Linked DNA regions of Homo sapiens: region 2 is linked to region 1. The links are contacts of gene promoters, found by promoter capture Hi-C in human tissues and cell types (Jung and others, 2019). All regions are on one chromosome and are shown on one strand. The core of a region is centred on a gene start or on the middle of the fragment in contact, and the rest is flanking DNA. Distances in the headings are between cores, read along the strand shown. Region 1 holds the start of TOMM40 (translocase of outer mitochondrial membrane 40). Region 2 overlaps CKM (creatine kinase, M-type).

Region 1 (4,712 bases), core at 688-3,187:
TCATCGCTGTCTGGTGACAGGGTGGCTGTGGCCACATCCCCAGCACTGCTCAGCATGGGGCCAGGCAGAGAGCAGGGGTTTGGCGGATGTTTGCTGGATGAAGGAATTATTTGTGTCCCAGTGCACCTCGGAGAGATGCAATCCCCATCTCCAGGCTCTCGGTAGCTGTGACCTTTTCCTGATGAGGCCGTCTTAGCTTGACATTTGGCTACAAATTTGTTATTAGAAGGATACAATGAATGGATGAAAAAGGAAGCTCACCTCTGTGGGACTCAGCTGCTTTGTCCCCACATATGTGACCCCGAAGTGGTAGTTGGACTCCCCGATTGTGCTGAGGGCTACTGTGTGGTTGACCTGGAAGGAAAGCGAGAGCTGTGACGATACTGGACAGATAGGCTTGCCCACTGAAGAGGGCAAGGACAAGGTCTCTGGGCTGGGCAGGGGATGAAGACTGGGAGGCACGGCCTGACTAAGAGACTCAGAGAAAGGAGGTGCTGCCGGTAGGCCCACAGACCTGTTCCTTCACTCCAGCCTAGCTGCTATGGGGAGACAGTACCTCTGGATTCTAGGTCCCCAAACTGAGTAGTCAGTCTGGCACTATATCTCCGAGTCTTTTCAAGTATCAGGGAGCCCAGCTCTTGAGGGAGGAGTAATTGGGCCGAGTGTGCAGATGCAGGGAGGGGGACGGCGGGGACGATCTCTGGTGGGTAAGGACACCAGGAAGGCTCACCTGAAAATGGTTACTCAACCCTTTGTTGACTGTGAGCTTGACACCCTCCATCTGAATGGGAAACAGCTCTGGAGAAGAGAAACGCTGTCACACTCCACTCCAACCCCACACCAACTCTCATCTCTTCCTTCCCTACCACCCCCAGCTCTCTCCAGAGACCCACAGCAGAACATCTCACAAAGGATTCCACCTGTAAAGAGGCAGTACAGCCTAGTTAGACAGGGCCAGGGCCTTTGCTTGCTCAAATCTCACTGCCACCAAGCTGAGCAACTTTAGGTCAAACTCATCATCTGAAAGATGGGACCCTCACCACACAGAATTGTCCCAAGGATCTAATGAGTTAACGTATAATGAACACCAGAACAGAACTCCATAAATCTCCACCACTACTACTACTCTAATTGCTCCAGGCTGGGATCCGGAGGCTTTGGGTCCCATACCCAAGGAACCTCGCTGACACCTTGCTGACACCGTGACCTTGGGCCTCAGTTGCCTTCCCGATCACAAGAGAAGTCTGGCTTGGCTGATCCCGGGGCTCCTCAGGTCCCTAAAGGCTTTTCTCTACTGCTATGACATTCCATCCCGTTTCCAGCATTTGATTCCATCATTCTAAGCCCCAAGTCCAACGTTCCACCATTCGATCCCAACATCACCTCCTAGTGCTGTTAAATAATTCCAATGGTGCGCGCCAAATCCCAGAGTCCCCAGTGTCCTCCCCCTTCCCCCGAGATCCAGGCCATCGCAGCCCAGCGGGGGCCCCTCGCCCCTCACCCTTGCACTTCCGGTGGCACTCCTCGAATGTGCCCGGGTTGGGCAGGCAGCCGCAGGCCCCATCCTCGGCGGCCCCTGAGGCGCTGGCGGTTGCAGCCCCGGGGGTCCGTTCCGAACTTCGACTCGTACTGGTGCCGGCGCCCAGGCTGCCTCCCAGCGGCGGCAGCGTGAAGCCCGGCGGCGAGGGCGGAGGTGGCGGCAGCCCCACGAGGGCCGGCGCAGGCGGCGGTGGCGGCCCTGCGGGCGGCGAGCTGGCAGCCAACACGTTCCCCATGGTCGCCTGCTAGGGGAGAGGTCAGAGGGCAGAGGTCAGGGCCCGCGCGCCCCCGACTCAGCCCCAGCAAATCCGCACCCGGCTCCGGCCCCGGTTCTCACTGGCGGCGGCGCCTGCTCCCGGCCTGGGCTCCGCTCCCACCCCGTGCGCCACGCGCAACCGAACCCGCTGCCGCCGCCGCCACCACCGTCGCCCCGCCCCACCTAGCCCATTGGTTTAGTGTGCCCTGAGGCCCGCCCACCAGCGTCAAGACTCGGTCTTCCCATTGGACTTGTGCATAAAGTCCCGCCCACTTTCCCTGAAATGTCCTTTTGTATTGGTTCTCACTCGCAGGGTAGCCACGGCGCCCCTCCCACCCTTCCCATTGGCTCGCAGCGCCTGCGCCTATTGGCTCGCGTCGCCGCGGGTTCCGGTGCTAACCCGCCATTGGTCTGTGCTGAGCATTTTGCCACGCCCGCTGAGGCATCGCCCCGCCTCTCTCCTGGAGGAGGCCCTCTTTTGATTCCGCCCCGCGGCGAGGTTGCTGTGATAATTGGTCGGCTTTGACCCTTGCAGCATTTTGATTGGCTCCAGCGTGTACGGGGTCGACCTTGGTGGCGTATCAGCTTGGTACTCTCATTGGCTAACGTTCCAGGGTCGAAGGACAGGTAAAGGTGGGTTGCGCGGCAGAGGCGGCTAGGCAGCAAGGTCAGGCCTCGCGTCCCACCAGGCACCGCGGCAGCCGGGCCCCCACCCCACCTCTGGTTCGGAGTAGCCGACCTAAAACCGGAAGTGCTGGCCCTTCCCAGAGTGCCTCGGGAGAATTCTAATCTGTTCTGCGAACCCTGCGCTGCTCCTCGTTACCCACAATGCCCTCATCACCTCTTAGCGAAACAGTTGCCTTAGACCCACCCCTTTCGTTACCCATCATGCCTCTTGTTCCTCGCGTCACTGCGGCTTCTATCTTTGGCCCATTCATTCCTCTCCCATTACCCATCATGCCTCTGCCCCATTCATTTGAGCTTCATTGCCCAGACTACTTTTAGCTCCAGCCTGCCTGCTCACTTTCGTCGTTCTTCCGGCCCTTCTCTAATTAGCCATCATGTTTTGGATCCATGAACTCCTGTCCGTTACCTCCCTTGCCCCCGGTCCCTATTTTTCCATTATTCATCACTCTGCCTCTGGCCCATTCATTCAGGTTTATTATCCGTCATGCCTTGGGCTCCTATTACAACATTATTCATGATTTTGCCTTTAGTCTACTTTTACTTGCCGTTTATTCATTAAACTTGAGCCTCTTATACTTTCGTTACTGCTTTTTTAATTTTTATTTTTTTAAAGACAAGGTTGGACTCTGTCACTCAGGCTGGAGTGCAGTGGCGCCATCATAGCTTACTGCAGCCTTGAACTTCTGGCCTCAATCGATCCTCCTACCTCAGCCTCCAGAGTAGCTGAACTACAGGTGCGTGCCACCACGCCCGGCTAACTTTCGTAGAGGCGGGGTCTCACTGTGTTTCCCAGGCTGGTCTCTTAACTCCTGGACTCAGTCGAGCTTCCCGCCTCAGTTTCCCGAAGTGCTGGAATTACAGGAATGAGCCACTGCATCTGGCCAATTGCTATTTTTATCTTTGTCCCATTCATCATACTGCTGTTGCAATTATGAATGTTCATTAAACAGCATGCCCTGGACCCCTCCCCATTCCATTACTCAACATTCTGTTTTTAGGGCTGGGCGCAGTGGCTCACGCCTGTAATCCCAGCACTTTGGGAGGCCGAGACGGGTGGATCACGAGGTCAGGAGATCGAGACCATCTTGGCTAACGCGGTGAAACCCCGTCTCTACTAAAAATACAAAAAATAAGCCGGGCGTGGTGGTGGGCGCCTGTAGTCCCAGCTACTCGGGAGGCTGAGGCAGAGGAATGGCGTTAACTCAGAAGGTGGAGCTTGCAGTGAGCCGAGATCATGCCACTGCACTCCAGCCTGGGCGACAGAGCGAGACTCCGCCTCAAAAAAAAAAAAAATTTTGTTTTTGATTGATACATTTTTGCTCATTACTCTCTCAATTCTTATTTTGTATCTTTGGTCCCTTTGTTTTTGTCTTTAACTCTCTTGACCCCAGTTCACTGATTCTCTCAAGCCCTTAGACTCCTTCCTCATTCCCCTTCATGTCTCACCCCATCCCCTTCACATCCCACAGAAAAGGCAAGACCTGGTCAAAGTATAAATTCATATTTTGTAGGAAATGTAGTTTACAAAACAGTATCAATTGCTACCCCCAATTCAGATGACCCACTTTCCCCGGAAGGGGGATGTTTAGGTCCTATTCCACTGGGCAAGGGTAAAATGATTCAGTAGTCTTCCAGGTTAACAGTAAATTCTTCTCCCAAGGCTGGGGCCATCAAGGCACAGTCTGTATGAGGCTCACCCTGTCTGACCCTAGGCTGGGGCTGCTTGCTTGGTAGGCAGGAATTGGGGTGGGGGTGGGGGCTCAGGGAAGGGTCTGGACCCTGAGACTTCTGCTTACAGGAGGGTGCTGGGAAAACCCTGCCTTGGGCTGGGGAATCCCCTCTTTCCCACCTTTGGGGAACAGGGTGGGGAGGGGGTAAGTGGGACCCTGCTGCCTGGAGGGCTCAGGTCTGAGCAGCAGGGAGCCCTCAGCGCCCACTCCAGCAGACCTATTGGGAATTTACTACCTGAAGACAAATTATAGGTCTAGGGTCTTCTTTGTGATTTTGGGGGAGTCGAGGCATTGGGGGGTGAGAGGTATGGTCTAAGGTCACAGTCTGGGAGAGGAGTCCTTGGGATCAGAGGTTGTGCAGAAGCACCTTCCCCACCTCCTGCCTCATGAGATAAGGTTGCCAGGATTCCATTATCACGGTGAATTTCTCTGGGCTCATGGGTTAGGGGTCATAGTGGAGCCACCAAGGTAGACATCACAAATGGAATGCATATGTGTTA
Region 2 (4,712 bases), core at 1,329-3,828, 420 kb before region 1:
TTCGACAAGCCCGTGTCCCCGCTGCTGCTGGCCTCAGGCATGGCCCGCGACTGGCCCGACGCCCGTGGCATCTGGTGAGGCCCCTCCCCGCCCCCTGGCTTCCTCTTCCCCCAGCCTCCTCCAGTCCTGCAACGGCCCTCCTCACTCCTCCACCAAAACCAAGGCCATATACGTAATTATGATCTTCTAAATGCCACGGAAAATGATCTTGCCCTCCGCCCCTGCCCATCCTGTGGTCTGTGTGTCAGATTTTGGGATATCTGGACCGGAGAAGTGGTAGTTAAAAACTTAAGACTTGGCGGGGCACGGTGGCTCATGCCTGTAATCCCTGCACTTTGCGAGGCCAAGGCGGGGGGATCACTTGAGGTCAGGAGTTTGAGACCAGCCTGGCCAACACGGTGTCTACTAAAAATGACAAAAATTTAGCTGGGCGTAGTGGCAGGCGCCTGTAGTCCCAGCTACTTGGGAAGATGATGCAGGAGAATCGCTTGAACCCAGGTGGCGGAGGTTGCAGTGAGCCGAGATCGTGCCACTGCACTCCAGCCTGGGCGACAGAGCCAGACTGTCTCAAAAAAAAACAAACAAAAAAGAAAGAACTTAGACTTGGCCGGGCACAGTGGCTCACACCTGTAATCCCAGCACTTTGGGAGGCTGCAGCAGGAGGGTCGCTTGTGCCCAGGAGTTCTAGACCAGCCTGGGCAACATAGGGAGACCACGTCGCTACAAAAATTAAAAAAAAAAAAAGCCAGGCGCGGTGGCTCACGCCTGTAATCCCAGCACTTTGGGAGGCCAAGGTGGGCGGATCACGAGGTCAGGAGATTGACACCATCCTGGCTAACACGGTGAAACCCCGTCTCTACTAAAACTACAAAAAAAAAAAAAAAATTAGCCCGGCGTCGTGGCAGGCGCCTGTAGTCCCAGCTACTTGGGAGGCTGAGGCAGGAGAATGGCCTGAACCCAAGAGGCGGAGCTTGCAGTGAGCTGAGATCGTGCCACTGCACTCCAGCCTGGGCGACAGGAGACTCCGTCTCAAAAAAAAAAAAAAAAAAAAAAAAAAAAAAAAGCCAGGCGTGATGGCGTATACCTGTGGTCCCAGCTACTCGAGAGGCTGAGGATCAGCTGGGCCCAGAGGATTGAGGTTACTGTGAATCATGACCGAGGTACTGCACTCCAGCTACCTGTCTCAAAAATAAGAACTCAGACTTGAACCGTACTCCCTAGGTTCAAATCCCAGCTCTACCATTTACTAACTTTACTAGCTTTGTGACCTTGGGCAACTTATTTTATTTTTCTCTACCCCAGTTTCCTAGCTATAGGATAGGGATCACAATAATTTGTAGTTTCTGGTGTTCTTGTGAGGATTAAATGAGTTAATTTATGTAAAGTATTAAAAGCAGTGCCTGGGCCAGGCGCGGTGGCTCACGCCTGTAATCCCAGCACTTTGGGAGGCCAAGGCGGGCGGATCACGAGGTCAGGAGATCGAGACCATCCTGGCTAACATGGTGAAACCCCGTCTCTACTAAAAATACAAAAAATTAGCTGGGCTTGGTGGCAGGCGCCTGTAGTCCTACTTACTCGTGAGGCTGAGGCAGGAGAATGGCGTGAACCCGGGAGGCGGAGCTTGAAGTGAGCCAAGATCGCATCACTGCACTCCAGCCTGGGCGACAGACCAAGACTCTGTCTCAAAAAAAAAAAAAAAAAAAAAAGCAGTGCCTGGTATACACTAAGTGTTCAGTACATCTTGGTTATTCGTCTTATCTTTATTATAAAGTATTATTGCTAGACTTGTTTTGACTCTTTGAATCCCTGATTCAGATAGTCAAAGATTTAGAGAACCTAGGTTTCAATCGATGAAGGGAGCCTGGGTGCTAAGATATACAGATGGGATGATTCTAAGATTTCAAGATTTTAAATATTTTTAGGTTTTAAGATTCCACTCATTTATTTATTTATTTATTTTGAGATGGACTCTCACTCTGAGGCCCAGGCTGGAGTGCAGTGGGTTGATCTCGACTCACTGAAACCTCCATCTCCCGGGTTCAAACGATCCTCTCACCCTCCGCCTCCTTAGTAGCTAGGACGACAGGCATGTGCCACTGTGCCCAGCTAGTTTTCGTATTTTTGGTAGAGACAGCGTTCTGCCATGTTGCTCAGGCTGGTCTCGAACTCTTCACCTTAAGTGATCCGCCCACCTCAGCCTCCCAAAGTGCTGGGATTACAAGCGTGAGCCACCATGCCTGCCCTCAGGTTTTTTTTTTTTTTTTTTTGAGACAGGGTCTTGCTCTGTTGCCCAGGCTGGAGTGCAGTGGTGGGATCATAGCTCGCTGCAGCCTGGACCTTCCAAGGTCAAGTGATCCTCCCGCCTCAGCCTCCCCAGTGGCTTGGACTACAGGCATGTGTCCCACCATGCCTGCTAATTTTTTAAATTTTGTAGATATGTGGGTCTTGCCATGTTGCCCAGGGTAGTCTTGAACTCCTGGGCTCAAGCAATCCTCCGGCCTTGGCCTCCCAAAGTGCTGGGATTACAGGCATGAGCCACCACACCCGGCCATTTCCGGATCTTAATATTTTATGTTCTTTTTTTTTTTTTTTTTTGAGATGGAGTCTCGCTCTGTTGCCCAGGCTGGAGTGCAGTGGCGCGATCTCGACTCACTGCAAGCTCCACCTCCCGGGTTCTCGCCATTCTCTTGCCTCAGCCTCCTGAGTAGCTGGGACTACAGATGCCCGCCACCATGCCCAGATTTTTTTTTGTATTTTTTAGTAGAGACAGGGTTTCGACGTGTTAGCCAGGATGGTGTCGATCTCCTGACCTTGTGATCCGCCCGCCTCGGCCTCCCAAAGTGCTGGGATTACAGGCGTGAGCCACCGCACCCAGCCTTAATATTTTATGTTCTAAGATCCTGCTTCTGAGATGCTAGGATTGGGAGCTAACACACTACGATGGGAAGATTTTCTGGTCCTGAAACCAGATGTAGGATTACCAAGTGTTATCAGTTCTGATCCCAAGCTTCTGTTTGTCAAACATCCTGAGATCCCAAGGATCTATAATAATACTGTTCAAAGACTTAAGTCCCTAAAAGTCCTTGATCCCAGGATTCAGCGTTTTGCAGATCCTGTGACATTAGAGTCTACAGGTTTAAGCTTCTGCGTTTTGAGGAGGCAGATGCCACCCACCTCCCACCCCTCAGGCCCTCTTCCCCCATCGGTGGGCAGATGTTTTGGGGGAGGGCTGGGAATGGGGTTCCCACGGGGCTGACACCTTGGCCTCTTGCTGCGGCACCTTACTCTAGGCACAATGACAACAAGAGCTTCCTGGTGTGGGTGAACGAGGAGGATCACCTCCGGGTCATCTCCATGGAGAAGGGGGGCAACATGAAGGAGGTTTTCCGCCGCTTCTGCGTAGGGCTGCAGAAGGTGGGTGTCTGCCCTTAGCTGCTGACTTCTGACTCCACCTTGAACGCCCCACCTGCTTTCCGAGGCCCCGCCCCTTCCCCTATACTAAGCCCTGCCCCACCCATTTTCCAGGGCCCTGCCCCCCGGACCTGGCTCCACCCCATGCCAAACCCCGCCCCCCAAAACTAGCCCCACCCGCTTTTCAGGGCCCCGCCCCTGGACCCAGCTCCACCCTATGCCCAAGCCCCGCCCGTAAGGATCCGCCTTCAGGCCGGGAGCGGTGGCTCACGCCTGTAATCCCAGCACTTTGGGAGGCTGAGGAGGGTCAGGAGTTCAAGACCAGCCTGGCCAACATGGTGAAACCCCGTCTCTATACTAAAAAATTAATAAATAAATAAATTATCCAGGCGTAGTGGCGCGCGCCTGTAGTCCCAGCTACTCGGGAGGCTGAGGCAGGAGAATCGCTTGAACCTGGGAGGCAGAGGTTGCAGTGAGACGAGATCACGCCATTGCACTCCAGCCTGGGTGACACAGAGAGACTCTGGAAAAAAAAAAAAAAAAAACCCGCCTTCAAAGCGTTCTTAGTCCCCGCCCCTCAAAATCCTGCCTTGGTCCCCATTGTCTAGCCAGCACCCTCGGAATCTCCTACCTCCCTGTTCCCCTCAGAATCCCACCTCCACCACGTTCCCACGCCCTGTCCCTCCGGACCCTGTCCATGTTGCGGGTGCATTTGGGGGTGCCTGCCGGCGCTGACCCCTGGTCCTCTCTCTGAACCTCAGATTGAGGAGATCTTTAAGAAAGCTGGCCACCCCTTCATGTGGAACCAGCACCTGGGCTACGTGCTCACCTGCCCATCCAACCTGGGCACTGGGCTGCGTGGAGGCGTGCATGTGAAGCTGGCGCACCTGAGCAAGCACCCCAAGTTCGAGGAGATCCTCACCCGCCTGCGTCTGCAGAAGAGGGGTACAGGTACGGCTCCCACATCCTTTGCACCACGACGGAGGGGGAGCGAGGGCCCTTTGCAGGGATGCAAGGAGAGGTGCGACATCCCTGCGAGTTCTGGGGATCCGGCAAGGGCTGACCCTCTGTGAGCTTGCATTTCTTCCTCTGTAAAATGGGTGTCAATATGCCTATGTGATAGGAGTCAATGTGGGATTTTCATGATTATATAATATGCATTGCACATGCCCTTGGACCTCCCTCGGGGCCTCAGTTTCCCCATTTATAAAGCGAGGAGTGGTCAGGATTCGACCCTAGGCCGCCTGGCTCCAGAACCCACTCTCTTACCCACTATACTATGTTTGATAACTGAGTGGCGT

The links. Contacts are between HindIII fragments. The study calls those that stand out against the background at their distance.
Region 2: a contact is called between a fragment that was not itself captured here and the fragment with the promoter of TOMM40 in region 1, in 1 of the 25 tissues and cell types used here (lymphoblastoid cells).

What each region holds. Positions count from the first base shown.
Region 1 is chr19:44,888,479-44,893,190 of GRCh38, reverse strand. It overlaps TOMM40 (translocase of outer mitochondrial membrane 40), which reads right to left and starts at 1,937. Exons shown (of 9, transcript NM_001128917.2): 1 at 1,502-1,937; 2 at 731-798; 3 at 262-354. The coding sequence starts at 1,775. NECTIN2 (nectin cell adhesion molecule 2) reads right to left here. Exons shown (of 9, transcript NM_001042724.2): 9 at 3,968-4,712. RefSeq lists a silencer at 1,601-2,240 and enhancers at 2,551-2,710, 2,880-3,381. The HindIII fragment of the contact is 8,270 bases long and covers 1-4,712 here.
Region 2 is chr19:45,307,111-45,311,822 of GRCh38, reverse strand. CKM (creatine kinase, M-type) reads left to right here. Exons shown (of 8, transcript NM_001824.5): 5 at 1-74; 6 at 3,291-3,414; 7 at 4,173-4,362. Among named protein-coding and RNA genes, the nearest start is that of CKM, 13 kb to the left of the region's middle. RefSeq lists a silencer at 3,136-3,293. The HindIII fragment of the contact is 3,883 bases long and covers 637-4,519 here.